2 separate regions of the Homo sapiens genome follow, and region 1 is linked to region 2. The links are contacts of gene promoters, found by promoter capture Hi-C in blood cells and fetal thymus (Javierre and others, 2016). All regions are on one chromosome and are shown on one strand. Each heading gives the region's core, a stretch centred on a gene start or on the middle of the fragment in contact. The rest is flanking DNA. Distances are from core to core; before and after follow the strand shown. Region 1 overlaps ODR4 (odr-4 GPCR localization factor homolog). Region 2 holds the start of RNF2 (ring finger protein 2).

Region 1 (5,810 bases), core at 1,159-3,658, 1.3 Mb after region 2:
GATGCTATTTAATAATAAACTCAAGATTGGGGGATGGAAGAAGAAATGTGGAAGAAGTAACTTTAAAGTAGGTCTTTGAGGAAACATGGAGAAGTAGACAAACCTAGCCCAATTTTGCTCGTCAGGACACCTTCCCCTTTGACCATGTAAACGTAATTTATAATATGGAAACTTCAGAATTAGAATGTTTATTGACCAGATTTTTCACATTTTGTTGTCTTTCCAAAGTGTTTTGTATTCCCTTCTAATCTTTTTAATATCTGGTTGTCCAGTTCTTTACAAAAGAAGCTTTTGAAAATTTTATTCCTGTTCTAATTTGTGTTGTCTTATATCAGACTTATGGCAACAGTGGTCATATTTTTGTTGTAAGCTATAGTACCCATCTTACTGAATTTTTTGTTGTTGTTGTTGGATCAATAGGGAGGGAGAGGGATTGGGAAAAATTTGGAAATTAGACAAATTCTAATTTCCTCTTAGAGCTGAGTCTTAAAAACACAAAATGGAACAGAGATTCAGATACTTATTTTAAAACCCATGCCACTGATTTCTTATGAGTGAAGGAAGAACGTGTTAATCGGCAGGAGGGACCGGTCAGCAGTACAAAGCCAAAAAAAAAAAAAAAGGAGAGTCACACAGGCAAGCTGACTGTGTCCATCCAAACACAGGAGAGTGCACTTTGGCCCAAGGACTTGATTTTGAGGCCTACTAGCCAATAAAGCTCTTATTGGGACAATTTTCTTTCTAGATATCTTAGCCTGATGCCTTAGAATCTTCAAATTACATAATTAACTTTCCTTATTCTGATTCTACCCATATTCCCAAGCTACTTTCTTTTATAATTTGATGCCCCATGTTATCTACTTATAAAGAATACACTGTCCAGAGGACTCAAGTGTTCAGATGCCTTCATGACATTTTAGTTTTCTACATCATTCTGAATAAACTTAATCAATGTCAGTCTAGCCATGAAAGACAGGCTCATTTTCAGAATTTTTACAAATCAGATTTCTTAATTTGCAAGACAGAGGGCAGATCTACATGGTTCAACCAGGTAGCACCACTCTGTGAGGCCTCTCATTAGACAGCCAGACTGCCTCTCTTGAGAACAGTGTGAATTTCTTTTTAATTCAGTTGTAATGTGGGGCTCTTTTTGTTAGGAGTTTTCTATTTAAGTTTTTTTCTTTCTCTTTGTTTAAAACATTTAAGAGAAGAAGAGTCTTAGAGAAAGATGTGATCAGTAGAGATAAAAAGTCAGGGAGAAAGACCCTCTTCTAAATTTGTCTTAACTGGATAAAGGTTGTTTCTAAAGCTCAGGCAAACTGCCATCTTACAAATGAGTGTCTCATAATTTAAGGCCTTCCTTCTTTTTTTTTTTTTTGAGACGGAGTCTCGCTGTCGCCCAGGCTGGAGTGCAGTGGCGCAATCTCGGCTCACTGCAGGCTCCGCCCCCTGGGGTTCACGCCATTCTCCTGCCTCAGCCTCCCGAGTAGCTGGGACTACAGGCGCCCGCCACCTCGCCCGGCTAATTTTTTGTATTTTTAGTAGAGACGGGGTTTCACCGTGTTAGCCAGGATGGTCTCGATCTCCTGATCTCGTGATCCGCCTGCCTCGGCCTCCCAAAGTGCTGGGATTACAGGCGTGAGCCACCGCGCCCGGCCTAAGGCCTTCCTTCTATCTCTTTTTATGCTGTAGTATGTATTGCTCACGGACAGAGCAATTCATTCCTTTCAGTATTCTACGTGCTTTTTCTTCCAGAGTTCATTACTTTTTCCTCTCCTTCCTCTTAAGCTTGCCTGTTTCCTGGTCTCTGTCAGTTTCTTTTTCTTTTCAAAGTTATACATTTTATGAAGAAAAGAGGAGCCTTCTTAACTGAGACCTACTTTCTTTTCCTGTGTTTATTTGAATGTAACTTCCTGAAAATAACCTGTAGGAATAGTTACTCTTATTTTCTATCCCAAGATGATACTAATGATCAGAGTTTCAGGTCATGTGTGGGGAAGATACAATGCTAACTTGCATTAGCAGTGTTATTTTCACTCTTTTTTTATAGGAAACTTTCACTGTAGTGAAACTGAGCTATTGAATGTTCCCCTACATTTATTTTTAGATCTCCCAACTTTGGTTACTACTTAACTGATATTACAGCTGAAGAACAGATTGGGTGTGGTGGCTCATGCCTGTAATCCCAATGCTTTGGGAGGCCGAGGTGGGAGGATTGCTTGAAGGTCAGAGTTTGACCTAGCCTGGGCAACATAGCAAGACTCTGTCTCTACAAAAAAGTAAAAAAAAAAAAAAAAAAAAGCCAGGCATTATGGCTGATTGTTTGAGCCTGTAGTCCTAGCTACTTGGGAGACTACTTGGGGGGAGGATTGCTTGAGCCCAGGAGTGCAAGGTTGCAGTGAGCTATGATCACACCACTGCACTCCAGCCTGGGCATTAGAGCAAGACCCTGTCTCTAAATAAATAAATAAATACACACACACACAAAGAACAAAAAACAAAACAAAACAAAAAACTTGAGGAACATAGAATCTGTATCACTTTAAATTGTGTCCCAAATCCCCTTTGTTATTCTGTGGAAATGTATGTGGAAGTTCCCTACTGTCATCATTTCAATTAAAATAAGATACAAAAGGTCACTTGTTGTTTCATTTTACTAATATTTTCCGATCTGTTCATTTATAACTTATAAAACAAATATAACTAGAAAACTGAATAAGCATATTACTTTTTAGTTAATGTAATTCATTCACTCATCCAGTAAACCATTTTTAGGGACCACTCCATGATTTACATTTGAGTTGTCCAAATAAATAAGAAGCTGATATTAAATACATTAAAAGATAAACAACATGTGAGGGAAAGATTGTAAGGCCATCCTTGAAAATTAGCTTCCCTTTAGCTTCCATTATAATGTGGGTATTAATGATTTAACCTGTTACAAATATTACTCAGTTTTTGCATGTCATAAAAGCTAAGGAATTTAGGTATCACTCTAATTAGATTGAGGAATCAGATATCACTCTAACAAGCTTTTTAATTTGTTGTTGAAGTGTTCGTCACAAAAGGATTATGTGATTCTTGCCACTAGAACGCCACCCAAAGAGGAGCAAAGTGAGAACCTCAAACATCCCAAAGCTAAGTTGGATAACTTGGATGAAGAATGGGCCACAGAACATGCCTGCCAGGTTATCTTATTTTTTTGTTTATATGTTTAAGTTTTATTTCAAAAAAGAGCTAGAATCAAGAAGATTTAGTGAATGAGTAGAGAGAAGAGACATAGGGAGAAAGTAGCTAAAGATGACTGAGATTTTTAGTCTGGGTGTCTAGGAGGATACTGTTGGCATTACACGAGGAAGAAACAGATTTGGGATGGGTGAGTGGGAATAATGACTAAATTAATTCACTTACAAGTATTTATTGAATGAATTATATATCATCAAATAAATAATGTTAGAATAAGGTAAAAATAGAATTATTTCCTTTTCTGGGGTTGGGGGTGAGGGGAGGGAACTTAGAGGACAGGTCAATAGGTGCAGCAAGCCACCATGGCACACGTAAACCTATGTGACAGACTTGCACATTCTGCGTTTTTGTTTGTTTGTTTTAAGAAAAAGAATTTTCTTTAATAAATAAAAGATTTATTTCCTTTTCCAATCAACTTTAAATCTTTAAATCTTTTAAACTCAAACGTGTTTCTGTGTATGTAGATATATATATATATATATATGGACATATATTTGTGTCTGTGTATGTGTTTGATTATGGAGCAGTGTGTAGTTATATTTAAAAAAAAAATAAAATCTTGCCTGTAATCCCAGCACTTTGGGAGGCCAAGGTGGGTGGATCACCTGAGGTCAGGAGTTCAAGACCAGCCTGGCCAACATGGTGAAACCCCGTCTCTAGTAAAAATATGAAAAACTAGCCAGGTGTGGTGGCAGGTGCCTGTAATCCCAGCTACTTGGGAGGCTGAGGCAGGAGAATTGCTTGAACCTGGGAGGCGGAGGTTGCAATGAGCCAAGATCACACCATTGCACTCCAGACTGGGCGACAAAGCGAGACTCTGTCTCAACAAAACAAAACGAAGAAATCCAGTATTTAATTATTATTGTTTTAGTCTGTTTGGGTGGCTATTAAGGAATACCTAAGACTGAGTAATTTATAAAGAAAAAAAGGCCTGTTTGGCTCATGATTCTGCTGGCTGCAAGATTGAGCATCTGGTCAAAGCCTCAGGCTGCTTCTGTTCATGTCAGAAGGCAGATTGGAGCTGGTGTGTAAAGATCACTGGGCCAGAGAGGAAGCAAGGGGTTGGGAGGTGCTAGGCTTTTTTTTTTAACAACCAGCTCTCGTAGGAACAAATATAGCGAGAACTCATTCACTGCTCTGAGGATGGAACCAAGCCATTAATGAGGGATCTGCCCCATGACCCAAACACCTTCCATTAGGCCCCACTTGGGTTCACATTTCAACATGGTGTTTAAGGGGACAAACATGGCAACTATCTTCTAAAGAAAATATTAAGTAATGTAAAGTTAAATTCCCAATGGTTTGTAAATAACTTTCTACTCTAATTTTGCTTTTGGTCTCTCATAAAATTGTATATGACACACACACACACACACACACACACACACACAGAATATTAATGAATTTATATAGTAAATTAGCTTAACCTTTTACCTCTAGAAAGAAAAGGTTAATTTTACTTTTTCCCCTTTCTTGCTCTCACCTCCATCTCCTAAAAAATGGTTACTTTTTTGTGTTGGTGATTTTGAAAAGATATGCAGGCTCCTTATGCTAAATATGAAAACTTTATTTGTCAGAATTGTGCTACTATAGTAAATAGAATTTATTAAATCAGAGGAAAACACCGAAAGACATAGTGCAAGTAGATTAAGGATTAGAGCATGGTACCTAATTTTCTAAGACTGTACTCTGATTGATTGCTTGTACATTAAGTAATCAAAAGCTAACCAAAACACTCTAATCTCTGAGTGTAGATGATAGAAAAAAATCCATGTGGTATTAAGAACTAGCCACAATCATGTGAAGGGAAATACAGATATGGAGATATCATGGTAGTATGTATCAAAAACCTTAAAAATATGTATAACTTCTTAAACCAGTTATCCACCTCAAGGGATTTGTCCTAAACAAATAATTCTATGAATGCAGAAAGATGTACTAGGATTTTTAATCAATATTATTTTAAGGTAAAATTAGATATAGCAAAGATGCCCAGTATCAGTAAGTGGGCTTAAAAATTTGAGGTTAATCTATGCAATAGAAAATAATGGATTTTCAAGTCAGACTCCCTCTGTTCAAATTCCAGATCTAGTATGCTGCTAAAAATAGGGATACAGAGGTAGAATTACTTATTCCCTTAAGGAGCTCCCTGACCAACTAGTAGGGTTCACAGATAACTATGATATAAGACTATGTGATAAAATCCATGGGAAAACTACACCAAAGCCCTGTCGGAGTTCAGAGATGAAAAGATCAGAGAAGGCAGCTTCCTCAAGCTGCCTTTGAAGTATCCAGTAGGGTTGAGACATGCAGAAGTATAAGAAAAAGTCAGTTTCGGCCTAGGGAACACCCTGAGTAAAGACACATAGTTAGAAAGCCTAGGATGTGTATGGAAAACAGTTTATAGCCTCATTTGACACTACTTTTCAAGTAGTTTTTGACAAATATTTGAATTACTTGAGGAAAAGTAGTGTCAAATGAGGGTATAAACATCATTGACCAGATCCTAGAAAGTCTGAAATATCAATCTAAAATAAAACTTCATTTTATTTAGCTGATGGTGG
Region 2 (5,716 bases), core at 1,236-3,735:
TCCAAGCTAAGGCTACGAAAAATTCACGGGGATTCTTTAGCCATTTTCTTCCTCTGCTGCAGAGAATAAGTTTCTGTGTTCCAGGGTGGTACAGCTACAAGATGGTGGTGTCTCTATCAATCTGGTTCCTGGAGTGACCAGAACAGAGTGAGTTGGATCCACATGAAGCATGAAGCATAACCAAACAATAACTTTTGTTGTGTTAAGGCATGTAGATTTTGGAGATGTTTGTTACTATACCATAACATAACCTTTCCTGATTAATATAGTCAGAGAAGATCCAGTGCCAAGTTTCTGAGTAAGAGATAAAATAGATAAAATGAGTTCCATTAATTTGTCAGTAGTGTTTTTCATATTAAGGATGTTAGCCTGAGGTCTAGCTTTTTAATCACATTTAATCCAGATATCCCATAAGTTTTCCGTTTTTCCACTAATTCTCCTGTGAGTCTTTTTTAAGCACTATATTTAACTTTCATCCATAAAGTTCCTGCGCTTTCTACAAATCATCACTTTTCTCAACATCAATTGAATTGCTTAATCTAACCACACATCATGATTTTCAAAGGCATTTTAATTAGAGCAAAAGTTCTAAATTATGAACACCTGTCTTCCTTTAATTGAACTACACATGCACTCGTCATGAAGGAAGAAGGGAGATGCTTCTGCAACTGCACTGTTTCTAGAAAGTGGACTTTCACAAGAAGGGAGAAGCAGAGCTTCCCTGATTATTTTGATTTTGTTGTTGTTGTTGTTTTGTTTTGTTTTGAGACGCAGTCTCGCCGAGACACCCAGGCTGGAGTGTCATGGCGCGATCTCGGCTCACTGCAACCTCTGCTTCCCAGGTTCAAGCGATTCTCCTGCCTCAGCCTCCCGAGTAGCTGGGACTGCAGGCGCGTGCCACGACACCTGGCTAACTTTTTTTTGTATTTTTAGTAAAGACAGTTTCACCATATTGGCCAGGCTGATCTCGAACTCCTGATCTCAAGTGATCCGGTGGCCTTGGGCTCCCAAAGTGCTGAGATTACAGGCGTGAGCTACCACACCCAGCCTTTTTTTCTCCCCCCACATTGGAGGAAGAGTTTAACCTTGAAGGGCTTGTAGAGTCAGATAACTGTCACTTGTTATTTAAAGTTATAGATAGTAGGCAAAAGCTTTCAAGCCACTGAAAAAGAATAATGCTTGTTTTCTTTGATGGATTGTTAGGTAGCATATATAATGTGCTGTATTTAACACCTGTCCTTTTTCTTTCCACCCATCCAAGGCGTCAAAGGCCATCTTAAATCCCGGCTCCTCAGGAAATCATCCCCAAACACACCAGCTGGAATTGATATTTTTCTTTTCCAAATTCCTATGTAAATTCATGTCATTTATTTGGAATTGCTTATAGAGAGTTTCAGAGCGTTAAAGAACTGGAAAGGACCTAGGATTCAATACAATTCTCTCATCTCGCAGACGAAGAAAATGAAGTGCAGAGGAGCTACGCAATCTACGTAAGTCACATAGACACACATTGGAGGCTATGAACCTAGTTTGCCCAATTCCCACTGCAGTCCATTGGTTTATGCCTCTATGCCTTCAGATTTACGGTCTGGTATTGCTGGTTATCTTCTCAAGAGAACATGACATCTCAACAATAGTACATATAGAGATCAGGGAACTTTCAATTCTTCGTTACTTCTTCAGCTCATAATTTATATGCATTAAATGTCGGATAATTTACTGGAGACTAACTGGCTGTGTTTTAGGTAATGATTACATCTATTAATCTATTACTTCGTAAATCCTCAAGTTCAGAAGGTAACACTGGAAGGGGCCAAGGAGGTAGGAATAAAGCAGCAGCAAGGTAAATAGTAAGAGCTGATGACCACAATCAGAATGTTAAGCTAAGTTTAGAGTGGAAGGTCATTTTCCCAGGAGCAATTACACTTGCAGTTTTATCCTGCAAGGATGAAAAGTGTATGTTTGTTGTACGAGAGCGGAAGGGTGCCGAAGTTCATGTGAAGTTCTGCAAACCAAAGCCTGATGAGGATTTCCGCCGGGTGGGACAGGTTTAAGAGGACGAACTCATGAGAAAGAAGTCTGAGCCCAAACCCCAGAAGCCGGCCAGGAAGGTGTAAAGGGTGGGCCGAAGCCAGGGCAGAAGAACCCAAGCAGAAGGTTGAGCACGAGGTGGCTGCGCCGTCATCCGGGCGTTGCCCGGGGGCTACGTCGGACCGCGGTGGGCGCCGGGGGGGCGTGGCCGGCCAGCCCAGGGCGGGGCGGTGGCGCGGGTTCTCCAGGCCAACACGCGGCGGCGCACCCTCCCTCGCGCCGCGGGCCTCCCCGCGCCGTGCACGTCCTCGTCCCGCGCCTCCGCCCCTCGCTCGCTCGCTCCTTCCCGCCCTCCCCGCAGCGCCGGCCGAGCCGGCTTCCCCTCAGTCTCTCATGAATATTGAGCGGCCCCTGTTGTATTTCCCGAGCTCCATTGCGGAAGCTGAGGCTCGCCATATTGTGCGGCGGCGCCGGCGTCCGCGGCAGCTGATACCAGAGTCTTGCTCCGGCCGCGGCCAGCGGAGCCCTGGGCTGGGGCAGGAGCCGGTGAGTGGGGCGGGCGGGGAGGCGAAGGACGCGGAAGCAGCGGGCCGGGACACGCGTCTACTCGGCAGCGTTGCAGGCGACTGACGGGGGCCCCGGAGTGTGGGGGGGGTGTGTGTCCGCGGGGGTGTGAAGGGACATGGCGCCGCCGCCGCCCCCGGCCGCTCTCGCGGCGGAGACGGCGGGTGAAGCGGGTTCTCATTGTTCCCGTGTCTTCGAGGGTCGTGGGAGGGAAGGGAGCTGGTTTGCGGAGGACCCAGTCAGCGAAGCGCCGGGATTCCTTCCTTCGCCGCGAGCCTTTCGCTGCCCTTTCCTCTGCGCGGAGGCCGGCGCTGCGGCGCGGTCCCCTCGCCTCCGGGGGCGGGGGCCCCAGCCTCTCTGCAGCCCTACTCCGGAGGCGGACGGAGTGGAATGCGAGTTTTTTCTCTGGGCTTTCGCCTCGCAGCTAGGGATGTGTGTCTGCATCGTGGGGGTGGGGTAGGGGGCACTTTGTGCAGATATCGCTCCTTCCTTCTGGGGGGTCGGAGTCGGGGTTCCAGTGTAGAGGAGCTCCTCGACCTCGGGGTTCCTCGGGGAGACCCCTTCAGCTTCACACATTCCTGGAGTGCCGCCTCCTGCTCTGGAGTATCTGTTGCTGCTTTCTAAAACCGTGAGCTTACCCAGGAGGAGTCGTGGGGGGAGGGGGTGTCTTGGTTAGTTTCTGCGGGAAGATTCGCGTTTTGAACCGTGTCGTTTACGCTGAGATGCTAGTACCCACTTTTGCCGGGAGCCCACGTCCTGCTGGTCAGAATCGTTTACCTTCTACAGAAGTCTCCTTCTTGCTTTCAGAGATGGTGTTAGTAAAAATTGATCTCAAACTTTGAGGTTCATTCCAGTTATTTGCCCGCTAAGATCAATTATAGACTCATCTATTTGAAGCCCCTTTGGGTATCTTTTTCGAGGCTGTCGGAAGTTTTAGAGAATGTAACTTTACATTGTAAAATGATTTGAAGATGTCAGGTTTCTTTGAAGTGCCGTGAAAAGGATATACATATGCACTCAGTATTTTAGTAATACGCTGTTTTTCAATTAAAAAAATTAAGGCATGGTTTCAGTGTTCTAAACCGAGGATATGTTTAAAACGAATGTACGAGCGATTTGCATTACATAATCTACTTTTGGTAATTCCAAGATGATCAGCTGGAATACTTAGTCTAATTGGTAGCTAATCTATCTGTTTTGTATTAAGTGCAGTTGTTGAATATTCTAATAACTGAGGTGGGTGTGAGAGTTTGCTTCTTATAGTGAAATTTGATCCTTGGATTTATAAAGTATTTAAATAGCAGCAATATGACTCTTGGTTATTCCCTTTTTCCCCTGAAATTTCTACTTTTCACAATCAACAAGTATCTTTAAAAATCTTGATTGTACTCTTAAACTACTTTTTAGCAAAATAATAGGTAGTTATAGGTGACTCCTTTTTCTAGGGGTAGCACAGCAAATATGGTCCCTCACTTTTTGTAAGGATTGTAGTTATTTTCCTCAGGTATCCTTGTGGCATCCACATTTGAGGTTAATTATAGTAGAGGCAGATTTACGAAGAAAAATTGCCCGAGTCAGGCCAATCCGTTTGAGTATTTGAAAAATAAGCTAGTTGTCCTAAAGTGTGTTGCATAGAAAAATTTCCAGTTACAATCACTAACATAATGTAGACCATGCAGACTTTCAAAATACTGGGAATTTGGAGTTTTTCTCTGCCTGTGTGAAGCTCCCAGGTTTGAATGGATAGAAATATAGACCAGGTCAGCAAACATGTTTGGAATTTTATTAGTGACCTACAGTTTGTGGTGTCACGTCTGTGTCTCTAATCTGATTTATTCATGATTTGTGTTTATATTATGCAGACTTTGGAGTAAAGGTGATATATATGCCTAATGAATAATATATAACCAGATGTTTCAGTGACAGTTTCATTTCTATACATTAGCAAAGAAGCATAATTTCTTCCAGCAAGAGAAATGAGTTAATATTAAAACGCACTTTATTAAAATTATGGCAGTGTTTCTAGTATGACTTAAAGCGCTTCATAATTTTGAAATGACTCATTAAATTCTGGATAAACTAAAAATCCATCACAGTTTGCAGCTTTTAAAAGAAAAATAAGAGATTATGTACTCTGCGCACGTACACATCTACAATTGGTTTTTAATTCGTGTTATTGCACACACTGTAGAAGACATTGTCATCAGACAATGGTTAATTTCTCGATTGATTCATTTATTTGACATCTAAGCTGTCATAGTAACTTAGTGTTTATTTGCATTTAATACTGAGTAGGTGCCCATATAATTTGGGGTACAAAGGTATAATAGCATTTACACAGTCCATTCCTTAAGGGTCCAGATATCCTGACTGTTTGCCTACTGGTCTTCTACCCTTTCTACCTAATGTGTCTACTGGGTCTTCTGGTATTTCTTGGGGGAAGCGCAGTTTGATTGGTCTTACATAAATATTTTGACTGTGGTCATGGGACTCTTGGCATTTAAGTAGAAGCTAGTGTTAGTGTGTTGCCAGGCAGGAGCTAGGTGATGAGTCCCTGACTATAGGTGCTAAGAGCGTAGGTGTGACCCATTATCCAGTTTTATGTTGTGTGGAGCAACTCCGGTAGAATTGGCCATGTTCTTAATTCTCCTTTGCTTTACGGTTTTTAGACAGCTGAGGCAGAGTGGTATGATTAGGCTTAGTTATGTATCTTGTTGGATGCTCAAGGAGCTATATACATTACTAAAAATTCTAAGATTTCTATTGCTTAAATTTACTTCTCCCATTTCATTTTGAGAATTAACATGTTTGCCATTTATCATAATTTTTAAAAATCAGTTTATCTGTATTAAGTACAATGGTGAAAAGTTATTTTTGAAATTAACCTTGGGTTAAATTTTCTAATGAGAGCATACTATTAAGTGAAGTAACCAGCCAAATGAAAAACATGTAAGCATTTTGGTCATTTGTTTTCAAAAGATATGTTACTTACGGGCTCTTCTGCAAGGGGGATTTCTTTTTGTTTCTATGCTATAGAGTGGAGTTGTATGAAGAGGTTAGATTCTAAAGTCGATGCATAGAATGAAAATCACATGTAGTAAAAAAAAAAATCATGCTTGAA

Evidence for each region. The method cuts DNA at HindIII sites, captures the fragments that hold promoters and counts their contacts. A CHiCAGO score of 5 or more calls a contact.
Region 1: a contact is called between a fragment that was not itself captured here and the fragment with the promoter of RNF2 in region 2, in 3 of 17 cell types (total B cells, naive CD8 T cells and non-activated CD4 T cells). The highest score is 6.0, in total B cells.

Annotation. Positions count from the first base shown.
Region 1 is chr1:186,379,969-186,385,778 of GRCh38, forward strand. ODR4 (odr-4 GPCR localization factor homolog) reads left to right here. Exons shown (of 14, transcript NM_017847.6): 3 at 3,054-3,188. Among named protein-coding and RNA genes, the nearest start is that of ODR4, 7.0 kb to the left of the region's middle. The HindIII fragment of the contact is 1,244 bases long and covers 1,787-3,030 here.
Region 2 is chr1:185,043,073-185,048,788 of GRCh38, forward strand. It overlaps RNF2 (ring finger protein 2), which reads left to right and starts at 2,486. Exons shown (of 7, transcript NM_007212.4): 1 at 2,486-2,577. RefSeq lists a silencer at 2,116-2,375. The HindIII fragment of the contact is 4,610 bases long and covers 1,150-5,716 here.